Linked DNA regions of Homo sapiens: regions 2 and 3 are each linked to region 1. The links are contacts of gene promoters, found by promoter capture Hi-C in human tissues and cell types (Jung and others, 2019). All regions are on one chromosome and are shown on one strand. Each heading gives the region's core, a stretch centred on a gene start or on the middle of the fragment in contact. The rest is flanking DNA. Distances are from core to core; before and after follow the strand shown. Region 1 holds the start of CMAS (cytidine monophosphate N-acetylneuraminic acid synthetase). Region 2 overlaps KCNJ8 (potassium inwardly rectifying channel subfamily J member 8). Region 3 overlaps KCNJ8-AS1 (KCNJ8 antisense RNA 1).

What was found. Contacts are between HindIII fragments. The study calls those that stand out against the background at their distance.
Region 2: a fragment that was not itself captured here is called in contact with the fragment with the promoter of CMAS in region 1 in 4 of the 25 tissues and cell types used here (IMR-90 fibroblasts, lymphoblastoid cells, mesendoderm cells and 1 more).
Region 3: a contact is called between a fragment that was not itself captured here and the fragment with the promoter of CMAS in region 1, in 2 of the 25 tissues and cell types used here (mesendoderm cells and thymus).

Annotation. Positions count from the first base shown.
Region 1 is chr12:22,044,525-22,048,303 of GRCh38, reverse strand. It overlaps CMAS (cytidine monophosphate N-acetylneuraminic acid synthetase), which reads right to left and starts at 2,086. Exons shown (of 8, transcript NM_018686.6): 1 at 1,741-2,086. The coding sequence starts at 2,000. RefSeq lists enhancers at 954-1,659, 1,975-2,269 and silencers at 1,962-2,189, 1,833-2,202. The HindIII fragment of the contact is 20,290 bases long and covers 1-3,779 here.
Region 2 is chr12:21,762,563-21,766,341 of GRCh38, reverse strand. KCNJ8 (potassium inwardly rectifying channel subfamily J member 8) reads left to right here. Exons shown (of 3, transcript NM_004982.4): 3 at 1-1,387. The coding sequence ends at 619. The region is part of intron 2 of KCNJ8-AS1 (KCNJ8 antisense RNA 1); the gene reads right to left. Among named protein-coding and RNA genes, the nearest start is that of KCNJ8, 10 kb to the left of the region's middle. The HindIII fragment of the contact is 5,103 bases long and covers 1-3,779 here.
Region 3 is chr12:21,784,752-21,788,530 of GRCh38, reverse strand. The region is part of intron 2 of KCNJ8-AS1 (KCNJ8 antisense RNA 1); the gene reads right to left. Among named protein-coding and RNA genes, the nearest start is that of KCNJ8, 12 kb to the right of the region's middle. The HindIII fragment of the contact is 4,164 bases long and covers 1-3,731 here.

The DNA of each region.
Region 1 (3,779 bases), core at 837-3,336:
CACCATCCTCTTATCCTGCTTTACTTTTTCTTAAAAATATTTATCATAACGTGATACAACACACATTAATGTTCTTGTATACTGCATGTCTTTCCTTATTATAACGTAAGCTCTATGAGACTAAGGGCTGTCTCTACTGCTACTACACGTGGTTCGGTACATACAACAGTGCCTGTTACATAGTAGGTAGGCAGTAAGTATGCTGAATGAATGAATCATTTTTTTGTCCTTGAATCTGACTGTACCTTAATAAGCCTTTCCCTCTTTTGTTATGCCAGTTTGAACAGGGTTTCCTGATATATACAACCTAAGAGTTGTAAATGGTATTAACAGTTTTGTTCTCCATTTACTGTGAATATGATTTTGATCTCTAGTTCATTTCACAAAAATGATATTTCACTATATTACTGCAGTCTGGATGCACCTACTTCTCTCAGTCCTTTTTAGTTTGTACCCTTTCTAAGAATGTAAAAATATCCCAAAGTTTGTGAGCTTCACAAGGACAAAAACTGTGTCCCAATCATCTTGGTATTCCCTTGGACATGTATAGCAGAAATTAGGGCTCAGTAAATAGCTACTGAATTGAACAAAATCCCCAGGTCCTTCCCTATCTCTCCTTCGCACACTTCCTATTGCACTAGTGTTATCTTCTGAGTGGTGGCTCCTATTTGCCTTGGTCCATCCAGGACTTCTTTTGGGTTGAAACATTAAGAAAATTAGTATATTTATACTTTTTTGGCATCTCCCGTTTTTGAACAAGACTGGTTAAATGAAAATCATTTACCCATATATTAATATGGGTAAGCAAATATAGGTTCAAAAAGAAAAAGAGATGACTTCAAAAACAGTCATCTCTTTAAAAATCGAAACATCAAAAGGTTAACATAAATTAATTTCCACAATAACAACACATTCAAATGTAGTTAGGTTGAAGCTATATGTGTAAATTCATTCTTGGCACAGAATTCGATCTCCCTTCTTTTATGAATAACATCAGCTTGTAACTCCTGACCAATTTGGCAATGTATCTAAATTACGCATAATTAAAACTGTCCATAGGGCAGGCGAGGTTCCAAAGGTATGATTAAATGATTTGTAAGTATTAATATATCATAAAACAGTCAGTTGTACACCTTCCCACTGAGTCTCACGTATTTATAAATGTAGGGAGTTTTCTAGATTGTGCTGACTCACAGGAAGATAGCTGGAGTATTTTTCAAAGGTTAGGAAAAGATCTCCAAGCTGAGCTTGAAATTCAGCTCTGACACCCCGACACTCAACTCCATTCATGAACCTGATGCCTCCCTAATCGAGCAGCACCAAGCAGTTATCAGAGGCTGAGCAACAGGGGAGCTTCGATGGCCCCCATCCAAAGAAGTTCACATATTATCACAGATGTTGCACCGGGGTGGCCTCCTTTACTTTTCCCCGTAAGGTCAACCCGGGAGGAGGGGACGGTTGGGGAGGTGTAATCTCCCCTTTTACGGATGATTCTCAAGGGCGGAGACAGGAACTGTCCCAGGTTATGACCATTGGCAGCTACGGAACAAGGAAGGAGCTGGAGCCCTTCCTCCTGGGCTCTCAGCCCGGCCCCAGGCACCCCGGATCTTGCACATCCCTGGCATGAGAGATGGCCCCCTTCCAAGAGCGGTGGCCCCGGAGGCCCCAGCCCCTCCAGCAGCCCGACTCCCTCTCCCGACCCCCGCCCAGGCCGCGCCGCCCACTCTCGCACATGCGCACCTCTGGAAGGCCCCTGAATCCAGGGCCGCACGCAGGACCCAGCCAATGAGCGGGACCCCCGCCAGGTGCTTAATGTTCTTCAGGGGGATGCCTTTGCTGCCTCCCCGGGCCAGAATTAGGGCTGCCAGGTGCGGGGGCTTCTCCACACCTCGGCCCTGGCCGCCGCGAGAGTTGCGCTGCAGCTTCGGCGGCCGGCCCCGGGACGGTCGCCCCCGCGGGTTGGAGACGGAGGTGGCGGCCCCCTTCTCCACCGAGTCCATCTTCCTCCCACGCCTTCTCCCCAGCTTCTCCACATCCGGGAGCTAGTCCCTCACCACCTCAGCTCGGCGCCGCCCGATCCCCGCCTGGCAGCTGGCGCGCGCGGCCGTCCCTCGCCCCGCCCCCTCCCCCGCCCCTCGCGGTGCTCGCTGGGAATTGTAGTCCGCGGCCGCCTCGTCTGGGGCCAGTAGGCCAAGTAGGCTCTGATGAGGTGACCCCAAAACTAAGTCAAGCAGTGGGAGTCCAGAGATATTTGGAGGAAGTGCGGCTTTTGGGGTGCTTGCAAGTGTCTGTAAATTTCTAAAATTAAAAAAGAAAAAAAGTATTTATAATTGCTGAAGAACTTCCCCACTTTAGAATTGTGGTGGGTTTCCCGTTGCATACCTTGATGCACCCTGACACGAATCCATTTTATATTTTAAAATGTACATTTTAAACATACACCTTTTTTTAATGCCCCTGGGTCATTTTTTCCAAGAAATTACTGACCAGCTCATTCAAATATCCTACAGGCGCCTTAAACTCAACGTTTTAAAAACTCCATTTTTCATATGCTCTCCGCACTTTGATCGACATCAGCATTCCCTAGCAGCAGAAATTTGGAAGTCAGCTTTACTGGTCACCTCTAGTGTGGCCGACACTTGGTTTTTTGGTTTTGTTTTGTTGTCTGCTAAAAATCTTTTCCTTTTAGGAATTGATCCCTCTCTCATCCGGTGAGGGTTTCCCTCACATTCTCTGCACTGTGTGTGACCCAAGCTGGTCCATCTACGCACCCCATTTTCCTTAACACACCTGTGGTCTAGGGACAGGCATATGACCAAGCAGAGCCCACTGGAGTCCTTTCCAGAGAGTCTTGGAAAGAAAGGATCTTTCTCGTGCTGACTGGGTGCTAAGGACCTTGTTAACCTGAAGCCTCAGGGCAAGGGTAGGGTAGGGCGGCAGGGGGGCTTTGCTGTTCTGAAATGGGCTGGAAGACTGATGTTCTCCCTGAGGAAGCAGAACAATGACATGTAGGGATTAAAGAGAAAGAATTCTGGAGGCATCATTTAAACTCTTTTTTTTTTTTGAGACAGATTCTCACTGTGTCCCCCAGAAGGCTGGAGTGCAGTGGCACAATCTCGGCTCGCTGCAACCCTCTGCCACCCATTCTCAAGCGTCCTGAGTAGCTGGGATTACAGAGGGGCACCACCACACCCAGATAATTTTTGTATTTTTAGTTGAGTTGGGGGTTTCACCAGGTTGGCCAGGCTGGTCTTGAACTCCTGACCTCAAGTGATCTGCCCGCCTCAGCCTCTCAAAGTGCTGGGATTATAGGCATGAGCCGCCACGCCTGAGCATTTAAACCCTGATCCAGCCAAGAGGCTCAAAGACATACACCCACACACACCTCTCTTAGGAAAAAAAAAAAAAGAGACTTTAAAGCAGGCATCTCTGACCTAGCATGCATTTTGTCTTTCAGCATGTTTGCAAGCCTATATTTGGAAGTAGAGTCTTTTACATTTCTGAGATGGAGGCTGATACAAACAGAAAGAATGGATTGTAGTGTGTCGGCTTGCCTTCTCCCAGAGGGCAAAAGGATTTTGTACTTCTCAGGTCTTGGCCATTTTTGAGGGGAGAGAAGAAGTCTTTGATGTTTTGGGTCCTATGAGAGGTACTGGATACTTTACATCTCTTAGTCTGTGAATTAACTGAGGGCCCAGCCCTTCCTGGGACTGGTGCTGGAAGAAGGTGCTTCGTGCAGACACAGATAAGGGAGGCTGTGAGCAGACATCAATGCCATG
Region 2 (3,779 bases), core at 1-2,500, 280 kb after region 1:
GATCATTAGTGCCTCTGTGCGCATCCAGGTGGTCAAGAAAACAACTACACCTGAAGGGGAGGTGGTTCCTATTCACCAACTGGACATTCCTGTTGATAACCCAATCGAGAGCAATAACATTTTTCTGGTGGCCCCTTTGATCATCTGCCACGTGATTGACAAGCGCAGTCCCCTGTATGACATCTCAGCAACTGACCTGGCCAACCAAGACTTGGAGGTCATAGTTATTCTGGAAGGAGTGGTTGAAACTACTGGCATCACCACACAAGCACGAACCTCCTACATTGCTGAGGAGATCCAATGGGGCCACCGCTTTGTGTCCATTGTGACTGAGGAAGAAGGAGTGTATTCTGTGGATTACTCCAAATTTGGCAACACTGTTAAAGTAGCTGCTCCACGGTGCAGTGCCCGAGAGCTGGATGAGAAACCTTCCATCCTTATTCAGACCCTCCAAAAGAGTGAACTGTCTCATCAAAATTCTCTGAGGAAGCGCAACTCCATGAGAAGAAACAATTCCATGAGGAGGAACAATTCTATCCGAAGGAACAATTCTTCCCTCATGGTACCAAAGGTGCAATTTATGACTCCAGAAGGAAATCAAAACACATCGGAATCATGACAGCAAGATAACCCCAAGACAGTCTTTTATCAAGTTTTGACGGTTTATGCTGGGCACTGCCAGACTGAACCAGAGCTGGAACACAATAATGTGTCCTTCTACATTTTATTACACTAAATGATATTCATATTCAAGCAACAGCACTTTCTGTAGTAATAAAAAGTAACACACCAAGTGGAGGATTCATGGCTTATGCTTGTTTCATACATGTAGAATTCGCAGTGATATACTTAAGTTATGTGCAGGGGTGGGTATGCTCGTTTCTCTCAATTTGAAACACAAGAATTACACTAATAGTAACAGGCCTTGAGCACAAAATTTGGTCAAGAAATGAGTCTGTTTGAAATGCTTAGTTGGTGAAACCCAGATCGCTGTGTTACTAATGATCACTCTGGAAATGCAAATAGAATAGGAGGGGAAAAAACAAAATCATGTTAATGCGTTTTGTACATCAGCCTTCTCCTGTCTCCATGATAACTGCATTTGGTAGGAAGCCTGAGGCAAAAACTGCTTAAGTGGATCTGTTTGTAAGTGGATTCAGTTCATTCGCTTTGTCTGTCGGTGACTCCTGAAGGTTTCCTGGTCCATCTCATTGCGGCCTGTTGGGCAGAGCTGGACAAGGTGTCTTTGAAGGAAAGCTAAGTCTTGTCTCATTTAGGACTGGGTTCCCCACAGTGACAGTCACTTCCTTCAGCATCTCACTTCTTCTTCTAGAATCCCCACAGGGAAATACTGTATTGAATATTTTATTAAAACATTTTCTTTGTACTCACTGTAGTTTTGTGATTCCTCTTTCACAAAATCATCCCAAGTTAAAACTCAAGATGTTTTTAGAGCCATGTAAAAGAGATGTCAAAGTGATAACACTCACTCTGAGATTCCTCTCTCTCAAGTCTGTTTGCTCCAAAACTAGCTTTTTTTTGCTTTGTTTTGATTTTATTTCAGGTTTTAAAATGTCCTCTTGGTTTTTCAATCTAAGCCTGACATACCATAAAAATCCTATAAGCTTTTTTTTTTAATCTTCAATCTCCCATCTTAAAACTATACTTCCTTCCCAGTAGTATCTGAATTTAGGCTTGGCATTTATAGATTTAGCATCATCTCATTTGCTAAAGTGAGATTTTCTATCAAAGCTTCATTTAAGCATATTTAGTGCCTGCTTCTTCAAGGAAGGGATGAGACAGGAGAGAGAAGTACTAGGTTAATAAACTATATATGCTTTTATTCTTACATTTTATAGCTAAACATCAGAAAGCTGAGCTATTGTGAAATCTTTCACACAGATTTGGGGGTTTGTATTTATGAACATTGAAATAGGTAATTATGAAATGTTCTATCTTAAGACTCATGATTCCAACCAGGTGAACAGAAACTGTTTATCACGTCATTGAGTTAATCATTCCTGAAAGGGTTCTAACTGTTCCTCTGAACTCCAGACTCACAGATCAAACAGGCACCTGAGGCTCCACTTGGAGATTGAACAAGCATTTCAAACTTACTAGGTCTAAAACCAAATACTTCATTCTCACTCACAAAAGCTGCCCTCCTCCCAGTCTTTCTTCCAATCACTCAGGCATCAAGCCATGACCTGGAAGTCATTCTTGCTGCCTCTTTCATACCCTACATGCCATCCATTAGCAATTACCTCTCGGCTCTGCCTTCAAAATATATCCAGAATATGACCAATTCTCTTTACTCCACCACTTCCTTCATAGTCCAAGCAAGGATACTGTATATATGCATGCATCTGTACCAATTGTTTGAATATTAAAACATTTCTGTCTAGGTTGCTAAAGACTATCTTAATAAAACTTAACCCAACAGCAACTATGGAGGTGGATATCAGACCTCAAAGCAGTTCTGGAACAGATGCAGGTTCCCACCTTCCCACCCCAGGGCAGCTGAGCAGACCCAGAGGTAGCTGCCACACAATCCAGCAGTAAGAACATGGATAGTGCCTTCCTGCTGCTCAGTAGTAGCCCAACTTTGTAGAGGTGACACAGGCTGTGCAACAGGTGATGTCAGGACATAGTGGAGCTGAGATGCAAAATTTCTGAGTCCAGGGTCTAGAGAATTCCCTGGCACCAGGGGCAAAGCTAGCTATGGAGTACGGGAAGTTCCCCCAGCCACCTTCCAGCTGCAACTAAACGCTGAGTGTCAAGGACCTAATGACTGTCAATATAATGGGCATGTCAACGAAAGGTTATGAGGGGCTCCCTATGTCAAGCTGTGGCTCAGACAGGGACATCATTTAGCTAGAGACAGCCACACCAAACAAAAGGTTCTATCAACAATTTCTAAAAGTCTGAAAATGTTTTAGAGAGTATTAAAATGATTTTCTGACCTATTTTTGCTAAAACATATTTCACTGGGTAAGCAATTTTGAGAACTACATAGTTTTAGAAGATAAGACGGACTCTGTACATATATATGTGTACATGTATGATTTTGACTTACATATTGTGTTTAAATATTATTTTATATTCAGTATTTTGGTTCTCTGCTTCTACCCTTTCTTCCACCTCCATAATTCATACAGCAGCCACAATATTTTTTTAAATCACAAGTCAAACTACATGACACCTCTTCTTAAAGCCCTCTTCTGCCTTTTTCATTTTCTTTTTTTTTTTTCTTTTTTGCAGACAGAGTCTCACTCTGTCGCCCAGGCTGGAGTGCAGTGGCACGATCTCAGCTCACTGCAACCTCTGCTTCCCAGGTTCAACAGATTCTCGTGCCTCAGCCTCCTGAGTAGCTGGGATTACAGGTGCGTGCCACCACGCCTGGCTAATTTTTTGTATTTTTAGTAGAGCCGGGGTCTTACCATGTTGCCCAGGCTGGTCTCAAACTCCTGAGCTCAGATAATCTGCCCACCTCGGCCTCCCAAAGTGCTAGGATTACAGGTGTGAACCACCGTGCCCAGCCCTTTTTATTTTTCTTAAAATGCAAACCAAAATCCTTACCAAGGCCAACAAGCCACTACATCTCATTGTTAGCGCTCTTCCCCTCAGAGACTCCTACACTTTACCACACTGGCCTTTCTGCTCTTTGAGAAAGAGACATATGGCTCCTGCATCATAGATTTGCTTCTACCTGGAGAGTTTTCCCTCAGAAAGCCTCATGAGTCTCCCCTGTCATTATTTAGTCTCTGCTCGAGTGTCAC
Region 3 (3,779 bases), core at 400-2,899, 260 kb after region 1:
GGATTTAGGCCAGCTCTTTGATATCTAGGCCAGCTCCTTGACTCACAGTAGTTTGAGTTTTCTGTTTCAACACTCATGAAGTAAAAAGTAATTTTTAAAATTCTTAAACTTTTTCAGACAGCCAAAATGTTCATCAGTTATTTGAACTTGGACGTAAACAGAATTTCCAGCTATTTGAATCAATTAAACTGTCTGTTAAATCTATTTTATAGGTTACAACCTAAACCTATCCTCCAACCCCTCAGTACGTGTGTGTGCACTGCATGCACACACATATACACTCACATTTTAGCTTAACTTGCTGCCTTAAATAAGGCTATAGTTGGTATGAAACTTTATATCACTAATGCATAGATAAATGCAGGTAGTTAAAATAGATGGCATAAAGAGAAATATTCTTACAGTAATCTGTAAGTGTATCTTTCAGACCTAAATCACCTTAGAAAGAAATTTCACTTCTAAATAGATCATAAAATGTGTTTCCAGTGATATGAGATTCAGCCCTTCTTCTTTATTTTATTTATGTATTTTGAGACAGAGTCTTGCTCTGTCGCCCAGGCTGGAGTGCAATGGCACGATCTCAGCTCACTGCAACCTCAGCCTCCCAGGTTCAAATAATTCTCCTGCCTCAGCCTCCCAAGTAGCTGGGACTACAGGCATGTGCCACCATACCCAGCTAATTTTTGTATTTTTAGTAGAGATGGGGTTTCGCCATGTTGGCCAGGTTGGTCTCAAACTCCTGACCTCAGGTAATCCACCCGCCTTGGGTGTAATCCCTCCCAAAGTGCTGGGATTACAGGCGTGAGCCACCGCACTCGGCCAACCTTTCTTTTTAAACTACCCTTTAAGATAGCACTGGCAACATCTTGCTGGGTTACAGTGAAGAGGCTCTTTTTAGTTCAATGAAAGGATGATAATGATTGTCATGAAAGCTGTTGAACTGGGCATCTATGAAAAGTGGTTGTCTCCCTACTAGGGGATGCTGTGTGAAAATAAACTTTGGTTATTTCATCTTGATTGATAATTTGTTGAATATCTGCTGTGTTCATCTTTGAGTAACAAAATATAATTCAGGGATATTATTTGTTGGTGTAGTGCATAGCTATGTAGTATATTTAAAATAATATAAAATCTTAAGAAATAAGTATCTTTATTATACTTGCTTTACAGATGAGAAACTGAGGCTAGGATTTAAATGATTTATCCCCAAATCACTGATTTAAATTCTGACCATCTGACTCTAGAAACTATCCTTTTAAACAGCATGGGGTAGGTGTGGAGAGGAGGTTGGTATTGAAATGTTATATCTGCACTGGAATCTAGGAAAAGCAGAATTATGAGATCTCAGGGAAAGTGAGGACTGGGACCTGTCTAGGGACAGTCCACTCCCTCAATTCCAACTCCCTGTCTCTAGTTTCTCGTTTTTCTTCTGCCCCATTCTTATCCCTGCCTACTTCTTTCTCACCTTTATGAACCATTCCTATCCCTAAGACTAAATCTTCTGGCTTCTCAGTCCACAACTATCTCCATTTCTCAGATTGTCTATTTCAAAGTATCAAGCAAAGAATCTACCTTGTGCAGCTCATCTTTTAATCTTATACATGACAAAGACAACTGTGCATTACACATCACTTTGGGTCAGGAGTCTACCTCTGACCTAAGAAGCTGTTGTCAGGTAGTATATGCCGGTTGGGAGTAATGAGGAGAAACTAGCACAGTCTAGAGAGTGATGTGAAAGCAAGAAGGCAAACACAAATCACAACCAGTAGTTCCAAAAAAAGACTAATGAGACTGGGCTGGCTACTGATTATTTTCCTTTGAGGGAAAAAAAAAAGAGATTGAGAGAGGAAAAACCTTTCCTCTATCACATAAGCACTAAAATGAGCTGTTGTCTAAAACCCTTGGCCTTTCGTCTCATGTTCTCTCAACCTATCTTTGTTCCAGAGAAAGGGAAAGTCTAAAGAAGGCTGTACTTTTCTTTTAAAACATGAAAACAAAACAAAATCTCTTGCCATAAGACTCCAAATATTGACTTTTTAAGCCCAAGTTTCATTTCTCTATGGGAATTACTGCATAACACATAGCTTACGAGACATTTTCTCACAACTTCCCACTCAAAACAAGCAGTAACACCCTACCACCACCACTACAGAATTGCACTATCCCTAACACATATGATCATTACAAGCACATTTTGGACAGAAGCAGCCATTTTTCCCAGTGACCTATCACTTGTGGACACTTATATGTGCCAAGCACTTGGCCCAGGCAGCACAATTCCTATGTCCTTGGCAAACAGGAAGGAGAAGACGGCAAAAGGCAGTGATTTGGGGTGACAAGTTTTCACTAGAAAATAGGAGCGTCTCTTCTTTATTCCCACTTGACTGAACTTCCAGCATATATTCAATGTAACAAAAACATTATATTGGAAACACAAGGCATCCAGGCCTTTGGCCAAAAATGTAGGGGAAAAAAATAGAAAGCCTAATATTTCATGGGAAATTCTTGGCTTAAATAATATTTTAATAAAGCTTAGCTACATATGCCAATAAAGCATAGAGATGACATACTGATTTATGATTTAAATATCATTATAGTCTCTGTGATGCTGGTATCATTTTGTATCAAACAATATGAAAGAGGAAAAATCACTGGGGAAAAGAAGAGAAGAGCAACATGAAATCAATTGAGATATCAGTAGAATGTTTATTGCATATACCATCTAATTAAAAATTTGCTGTAAGGGTAATAATAGCTAACATACATTGAGCAGATATGATATAAGCCTTACAAGTATAATCTCTTTTGATCTTGAAAAAATTTCCCTGAGGTAGATATTATTATTTCCATTTAATAATTGAGATTCATAAAGGCTAACTTGAGCAAGGTTTAGCAGAACTCAGAGGCAAACTCAAGCAATCCAACTTCAAGGCCACACTCTTAGTCGTGTGCTATACTAGAATAAAGATTAATTTAGTGAAGTCAATTATTTGTTTTGGGAATAAATGATTTATACTGTATGTGTTAATACTGAGTGTCAACTTGACTGGATTGAAGGATGCAAAGTATTATTCCTGGGTATGTCTGAGGGTGTTGCCAAAGGAAATTAACATCTGAGTCAGTGGGTTGGGAAAGGTAGACCCACCCTTAACCTGGGTGGGCACCATCTAATCAGTTGTTAGCACAGCCAGAATATAAAGCAGGCAGAGAAATGTGAAAAGACTGGACTGGATTAGCCTCCCAGCCTACATCTTTCTCCCGTGCTGGATGCTTCCTGCCCTCGAACACTGGACTCCAGTTTCTCCAGCTTTGGGACTTGGACTGGCTCCTTGCTCCTCAGCTTGCACATGGCCTATTGTGGAACCTCACCTTGTGATTGTGTGAGTTAATAGTCCTTAACAAACTCCCCTTTATATATACATCTATCCTAATAGCTCTGTTCTCTAAAGAACCCTGACTAATACAGTATGTGACATATAATAAAGAATAATTATGTGAATCTATGTAGAATACTATTGAAAAGAGAAATGGACCAGGAGACCTGACTTCTAGTCTTGATTCTATCAATTGAATATATGGCCTTGGATTTATCATTTAAAGGCTGGGTCCCCATTTCCTCATTTGCAAAAGGAAAACCAAAAGACATGACAATAACTACCCTGTTGGCCTCACTGAGTTTTTATTAATCTCAAATAAAATGATGGGAAAATAACTTTATAACTTGAAAAGCACATTCCAATACGGAATGTTAGTATGAGAGCCCACTACATTGACCATAC